Linked DNA regions of Homo sapiens: region 1 is linked to region 2. The links are contacts of gene promoters, found by promoter capture Hi-C in blood cells and fetal thymus (Javierre and others, 2016). All regions are on one chromosome and are shown on one strand. Each heading gives the region's core, a stretch centred on a gene start or on the middle of the fragment in contact. The rest is flanking DNA. Distances are from core to core; before and after follow the strand shown. Region 1 overlaps ZNF280C (zinc finger protein 280C). Region 2 holds the start of APLN (apelin).

The links. Contacts are between HindIII fragments. The CHiCAGO score rates a contact against its expected background, and 5 or more counts as called.
Region 1: a fragment that was not itself captured here is called in contact with the fragment with the promoter of APLN in region 2 in 4 of 17 cell types (activated CD4 T cells, total B cells, non-activated CD4 T cells and 1 more); the score reaches 8.2 in activated CD4 T cells.

What each region holds. Positions count from the first base shown.
Region 1 is chrX:130,209,132-130,212,883 of GRCh38, reverse strand. It overlaps ZNF280C (zinc finger protein 280C), which reads left to right. Exons shown (of 19, transcript NM_017666.5): 16 at 3,169-3,231. Among named protein-coding and RNA genes, the nearest start is that of RAB33A, 39 kb to the right of the region's middle. The HindIII fragment of the contact is 157 bases long and covers 1,999-2,155 here.
Region 2 is chrX:129,653,423-129,657,086 of GRCh38, reverse strand. APLN (apelin) reads left to right here and starts at 2,131. Exons shown (of 3, transcript NM_017413.5): 1 at 2,131-2,523. The coding sequence starts at 2,457. RefSeq lists enhancers at 948-1,007, 1,018-1,107, 2,800-2,859 and silencers at 2,290-2,369, 2,460-2,509. The HindIII fragment of the contact is 20,761 bases long and covers 1-3,664 here.

The DNA.
Region 1 (3,752 bases), core at 828-3,327, 560 kb before region 2:
AAGTTAACCCTGTTCGTCATCTCTTGCATTTCCTCCACACCCTTATTTCATTATTTTGGACCTTCAGTTCATCTCTTTCTCTCTACCACATTCATTGTGTCTGTAGATATTTTCAGGCTTGTTTTTAGGATGAGGAAGATCTGCCTTTACTTTGCATGCTTTCTTGTTCCTCCATTTACCATCAACATTTATAAAGAGTATTCTTTACTAGCCTGTTTGTCATTTTTTGACTCTTTGTGATTTGAGTGTCACCCCCCCACCCCCCAACGCCACCTACATACAGCTAAAGCTTCTCCTTTAAAGGTTATCAGTCATATCCTAACTACTGGATGTACTCATTATTTTTCATTCTTACTCCTCTATGACTTCTTCAGAGTATTTGACATTTTTGATCACTTACTTTTGGAACTCTTCTCAACTTCTGTCTGTTAAACTGTTACCACCATTTTTCTTCTTTCCTTTTGGCTGCTACTCCTCTATGTAATTATCTTTTCTCCCTTCAACTGTTCTTGTCCCCTTATAATCCCTTTCTTGGTACCTTAACCATTCTTAAAGTTTTATCTTTTACCTTTCAACTGTAAATCCTCTAGATTTCAAAGCCGAGTTTCCCTGAGACCCAACTGTTTGTTTCTAACTAGGATTCAAACCACTTTTACTTCAATACCCTTTAAGCTCAGTCTGTTTCAGGGCATCATTTGCATAAACATGAAGCACCAGCTAGAAATAATTTACTATCCCAAGTTTCTGAAGCCCATGGAGTTCTCTTGATCTGCCACTATACATCCTAGCTTCCGGAGAGTCCACCTTTTGCAGTTTACCAGTCTGCCTCTTCCACTACTACAGTGGTTCTGCACCTATACCCCAGTTTCTCTAAAGCAGACCCTAGCCAACCCTTCCCCCAGTACACTGCTGTGATTAATATTGTTCTCTTATTCTGTGCTAAACACTTGGCTGCCCTAGTGAGGCTTTAATTCTGCCACTAATTTATAGAGGATTAAATTGGAAAATATTTTTGGCATTACTTAAACCCATGTGTCATTCCGTCCTCCCCTCTCCCATTTTCCATAGGCTCACCAACTGTCTTGTAGAACCTTCAGCCCCATTCTATCCCCAGACATTCCCAATTGACCTAAAGTTACCTTCATAACATTTTCCTAATTTCTGGTGAGCCCCTGCACTGTCATCACACACATTGAGCTCTTACTCATCATTAACCTCATCTAGAACTGAAAGCTTCCACTTCTACTCTTCTGAGGGCCTCGTAGGTCCCTTTGCTTTTCCCCTACTTCAAGGGTACACTGTTTCCCTCATTGCTTCAGGTACCTTCCTCTGAATGGTGCACCCTCACTCCTACTCGGTGTGGACTTTTGTCATAGGTTTGAGTTCTGTATGTTCAGAGGCTTCATTTTCTCAGAGGTTGAGTACCTTTATTCCCAGGCTATGCCAACTCTTATGAGAAGACAGGCCCTCAAAATTGATCTATCTTCCCCAATGTATAGGCTCTTCATATTCAGTATCTAAAGTAGTTTTTCTTATTCTTGATTATTCTCTGAAATGCCCCTCTCCTTCCTCTCGTTTCACCCTCTGTGAAGTATCTGATCAGCACAGCCAGTCACAAGAATCATTCCTTTCTTTGAGTTCCGTAACATTCTGCTCTTCTGCCTCACATGTGTCTCTATTACCTCTTTGAGAAAGAAGCTCTTTCGTTGTATTCACCATGGTGCCTATTCTGAGGATGTTTTCTTGGAATTACAGCTAGCCAGAATCTTTATTTTCCCATGCATATATAGTAAGCTGGTGATGGTTACCTTGTGTCTGAGGGTAACTGTTGACCTGCTGTGTTGGGTCTGTCAGTGCAAGATAGGGCTAGTGCTTCTCAAACTAGCTTGCATAAGAATCAGCTGGAAAACTTGGGAAAACAGATTTCTGGGCCCCACTGCCAGAGATTAGTTCACTATGTTTGCAGTAAGGCCTGAAACTTTGTGTTTCTAACAAGCTTCTAGGTGATGCTGATGATGCTGGTCCATGGACCACACTTTGAGTAATACTGTGCTAGGCTAATCCTGGCTAATCTTGCCTGGTTGTCTAACACAGGAAGGCTTTCCTTATCATTTTAAAGGGAGGCATAAAAGCTATTACCATTGGCTGTGAAGCTTGATTAGTGGTTTTCTGATCTGTGTGTAGGAGAAGCATTGTTTTAATTCATGAGCTCTGCTCCTTAATTTGCTCTCTTTGAAAGTTCTCCTGGTAATTGCAAAGGACTCTTTAAATGTTTCATGTTTATTGAATTAAGCAATGGCCTTTATCTCAAGTAGTGTTTACTTCCAGGATCATTCAGATTATCCCCCTCCCCAAACATATTAAGATTAAAATGTAATAAGTAATTATTATTTTCCAGCCTGGGTGACAGAGCAAGACTGTCTGAAACAAAAAATAATAATTATTATAACAATTTCTATCATAGCAAAATACATTATCAAATATCCTTTAAATTGTTCTCTTAATAGTTAAAAAACTTTAATTTGACACTGCATTTTTAACTCAAGCATTGTTTTTAGTAATGGTGAGGTACTGATCATCTAAGAAAATTCTCAGGGAAATATGTCATTAGAAAATATAAAGGTAAAGTGGAATGTAAGTTAAAATTCTTGAATTAAACAGAGATGACTGTCTTCGTCCATTCAGGCTGCTATAACAAAATACCATAGACTGGGTAGCTTATAAACAACAGAAATTTATTTCTCACAGTTCTGGAGGCTGGAAAGTCCACGATCAAGGTGCCGGCAGATTCGGTGTCTGGGTGAGGGCCCATTCCTCATAGACAGCACCTTCTCACTGCGTCCTCACATGGTGGAAGGGGCACACTGGCTCTCTAGGATCTCTTTTATAAGTGCACTAATCTCATAAGGGCTCTGCCCTCATGACCTAATCACCTCCCAAAGGCCCCACCTCTTAATGCCATCACTTTGGGGGTTAAGATTTTAACATGAATTTTGGGGTGACACAGAAATTCAGATTATAGCTTTAACCAACAGAATTTTATTATTTAGATCATGATCTTTTATTCAAAACTAAGAAATTAAGCATTGGCTTGAAATGTGGTCAGAAAATTAATATGGTGTTGTATAATAAAATTAATAAAATCTTGTTTGTCTCGTGTTTCTCCAGCTCTCATAGCAACCATCCAGGTAAACGGTTTTGTATTTTCAAGAAGCATTCAGGAACTCTCAGGTAATCATTGATCTTTTTTTTTTCTTTCAATTGAAATATTGCAGTAACTTTTTAAAACTTGATGTTGGAGTGCCTGCTTTGGAAATGATAGAGTTCTGTTTATTATGTCCTTGGACCAAAGTTGGAGGGATAGCCTATCATCTCTGACTAAACTCTGTAGTGCCAAGCATTAAGATGAAACCTTCATGTATTTGCGTTTGTAAAATAACAAAAATAAGGTTCTCCAACCATATCTGAATAGAAGTAAGTTTATGAAAATACCATAATACTTGAAATCAATATATAGCCTTCATAATTGTTAATGTTTTTAGAATTAAAGTATATAAGTTGTTTACTGTACAGAAAAAAAATTGATGAATATTTCTAAAGGCATTGATAATTACCATTGGTTACACCACACACATTTAGCTCAGAATCAACTAAACATCTGTTTTTTTACATTATTTTGTTATCTTTTGACTCCATCTTCCTTTGTTAATTATTTTGCTCATGTTGACAGATGTTTGCCAGGCACATAGTAC
Region 2 (3,664 bases), core at 882-3,381:
GGTAGAGCAGAGATTATCACCTCCATGAACCCCAGTAAGTTTAGGTGATGATGGCAAGGCCCTACAGCAAATGAGGGTGGAGACTAGAAGCCAGGTGTTTCTCCTCCTGGTTAGAAAATGCTTTCCATCCAGGCGTGGTGGCTAACGCCTGTAATCCCAACACTTTGGGAGGCCGAGGCGGGTGGATCATCTGAGGTCAGGAGTTCGAGACCAGCCTGACCAACCTGGTGAAACCCCGTCTCTACTAAAAATACAAAATTAGTCGGGCATGGTGGCGCATGCCTGTAATCCCAGCTACTCAGGAGGCTGAGGCAGGAGAATCGCTTGAACCTGGGAGGCGGAGGTTGCAGTGAGCTGAGATAGGGTATTGCACTCCAGCTTGAGCGACAGAGCAAAACTCGGTCTCAAAAAAAAAAAAAAAAAAAAGAAGAAAGAAAGAAAAAAGAAAAAAAGAAAAAGAAAAGAGAAAGAAAGCAAACTCTTTCCAGGGGAACAGTGAAGGGAGAATGGTCTCCTGCTACCCATGTCTGCTACTCATATCCTGGGTCTCAAGGATGAAGAGGGGTGCCATGCTTCACATGCTTTTTTTTTTTACTTGAGTGTGGTTAATGGGCCATAGGCTATTAATGAGAACCTTATCTTATTCCCTTCCTGCTACCTGAATTTAGGCAGTAAAGATGTTTTTGAAAATTTCATTTATATATTCAAAATTATGTATTGAGTACCAGTCATGTCGCAGGTACTGTTCTAGGTCTGGGGACACAGCTGTGAACAAAGCAAAGATCCCTCCCTTGTGGAGGTAACCCTTCTGGTGGAGAGAGACTGATAATAAATACATTGTGTATATATAGGATTTTTGCAACATTTCAAAGATATTTTAAATATGCCATGGTCTCTCATGTCTTTTATGGCACACACGCACCCTGTCCAATGTATCTTTTGTGTAAATCTGGACTTAACACTTCAAGCAAACTGCCTGGCTTGCTGAAAGGTGGAGACACCTTTCGATTCAGTCTTTTAATATGTGTTGAGTGCCACCTATGTGCAGAGCAAGATATTGGGGACTTTGGAGAGATCCAGAAGAGTGAGAAGACAGTATCCTACCTTAGGGGGTTCCCAGTCCAATGAGGGAAGCAGCCCCATGCCTTGGGAGCTCCCAAGCTATAGAAGCAGCTAACAATCGAGTCTGGAAAGGCAAACAACTTCAGGACCCGCTTCTAAAGCGGAATCGCAAGTACACGCAAAATGAATCCAGCCTTGACTGTGTGGAGTTGGGTAAACCACCTGCCTCTTACGTTGATGGGGAACTAGAATGAGGACAGCTCCAGGGAACAAGAAAGGGTAGACCATAGGAGCTGTCCCATGTCCCAACAGTGGGGAGGAGCTGATGGGCGGCCCCTGCTGGATTAGTGTTATCCTGAGAAGGCTTCTGGATGCGATGGGATTTGAGGTGCTGCTGCAAAGAATGAATTGCTCACGGAAGGGTGGGGTGGGGGCATTCCAGGTAGAGGGTGCCTCCTGGGGGATGCAGGGAACATGAGGGGCCTGGGCAATTAATCAAGCCTTGGGCACAAGCCTAGGCAGTCACCCCCAATTCAAAGCCAGTTGAAAATGCAGAGGAGAGAGGAGGGCCAGTGTTTGGTTGTCTTGACCAAACCCTTGAAGCTGGCCAGCGGCAAGGGCAAGGACCAGGGTCAGAGGTAGAGGGCGTGAGTGAAGGCAACCCAGACTGAGTCCTTCCCTAAGCGCCCAGGTTTCCTGACAGCTGTTAAGGAAGCAAGGTGAGAAAGGGTTAAGTGTGCCCCTCCACCGCCCCAAATGCTTCCTGTGTTTGAAATCCTTCAGGTCTCTGCAAACCCTCTGGCCCCCGGCCAGGCGGGCATTGTCCGGGGAGCGGTTGTAGGTTGTCAGAGAGGCCGCGCAGCCTTTGTTGTGGGGCCACCTCGGGGTTCCCTCTCGCGCTCACGCTCGGGCTGGGGCTGCAGAGTGCGTGCCTGGAGGGGGGCGGTGCGGGAGGCTCGCTCCCTCTCCCTCTTCCTGCCCCCCCTCTAGCCCTCCCGATGACCACATGACCAAGTGGGCTCGCGGCCAAGCCACAAGCTACAAAATGCAGCCCCTGGAGTGAGCGGGGAGCATTCTCTCTGGCAGCCGGGGTCACGGGCAGTTGCAGCCGCGGCCGAGCAGCCAGCCGCTAAGAAAGAGCTCGCCGCTGCCGCTCCCGGAGCCGCCGAGGCCAGCTTCGCGGCGCTGCCCCGCGGCGGGAGAGGAGGCTGCAGAAGAGCGGAGGCGGCCAGCGGGAGCGGCGGGGCTCAGCGCGCACACTCAGCGGCCGGGGAGCCTCCCGAGCTCTGCGCCCGCACGCGCCAGCCGCGGCTCGCGCCTTTCTTGGCCTCCGGGCGCCCGACCTCTCCTCCCCCGCGCCGGCTCGCCGGGGCCGCGGCGGCCCAAGGAGCAGCATGAATCTGCGGCTCTGCGTGCAGGCGCTCCTGCTGCTCTGGCTCTCCTTGACCGCGGTGTGTGGAGGTGAGTGCGCGCCCTCCCGCTCGCCCGGGCTGCAGCCGGCGTGCTCCTTTCCCTCCGCCCTATTCGCACTCTCCCCGCCTCCCGGGGAGCCCGGCGCGAGCCGTGCAGTAGCAGCCACGCGCCGGCCAGCGCCAGGCAGCAGATTGACAGAGCGCCCCGAGCCATGGGGCGGCTGGCCACAAGGACTGCTTCTTTTGCGGGGCTCAACTCGGCCTTTGGCATCACCTGCCCGTCACCTTGTCCCTCCTAACCGTCGCTCGCAGTCCCAGGAGCTCAGGACCACAGGTGTGCGCCGCGTGTCCCACGCCCTGCACCCCGCGTGGTAGAGGTGGAGGCGGGGGACATGCCCGCTCCCTCGTGGATCGATGGAAGGAACTGACCAGAGTCGAGTGGGCTGGGCTCCCATGTTGAACGTCTTCTGGTCCCTGAAGGCTGGGAGCCTCCCGCCAGTCCAGGGGCGCGGGAAACCGGGGATGATGTGCCAACATGCAGACGTGACACTTGTTGCATAGGCAGGAGTGCGCGGAGGGGGTGGCGGCATGGAGCCCAGCTGTTGCTCCTTTCGGCCTGCATGTGTGAGCAGAGGCAGCCTCCCCCAGGCAGGGCCGGGCCCAGCCGGGCTGGGCTGGTCTTCTCCTCCCTAACCCCAAGGTCCTGGCTGGTCTCCTCCCCTGCACAGGATGCCCTCCCCATAGCCTCCATCCCACCCCCAGAGACTTGGTTCTCTTACATCCTGGCTCCAGCCTTCCTTTCTGTCCCAGGCACGGACATGCTTCACTTTAGTCTCCCTGCCGCTAGGCACCAAAGGAGGAAGCACAGCACCTGACCCGACCCCTCCCTGCAGCTCAGGAAAGGGGAGTCCTTTTGCCCTCACCTGCCAATACTTGGCACTAGTGCCCATGTCCGCCCCTAGCCTGGTCCCCAACCACGCCCCAGCAGCCCCATCCCAGGCTGCCTGTCCTCTGTGTCAATGTCTCCTGGGGCTGCCAGCTCCCACCTCCAGCTGCCACAGTCCTATGATCTGGCTGTCATTGCTGCCTGCCTGGCACCACACAAGGGGAAGGCCAAGACCAGGTGGACTAACGCCAGGACCATGGCTGGAGTCACAGGGAGGTGGGAGCAGAAAGAAGGAGAAGGCAGG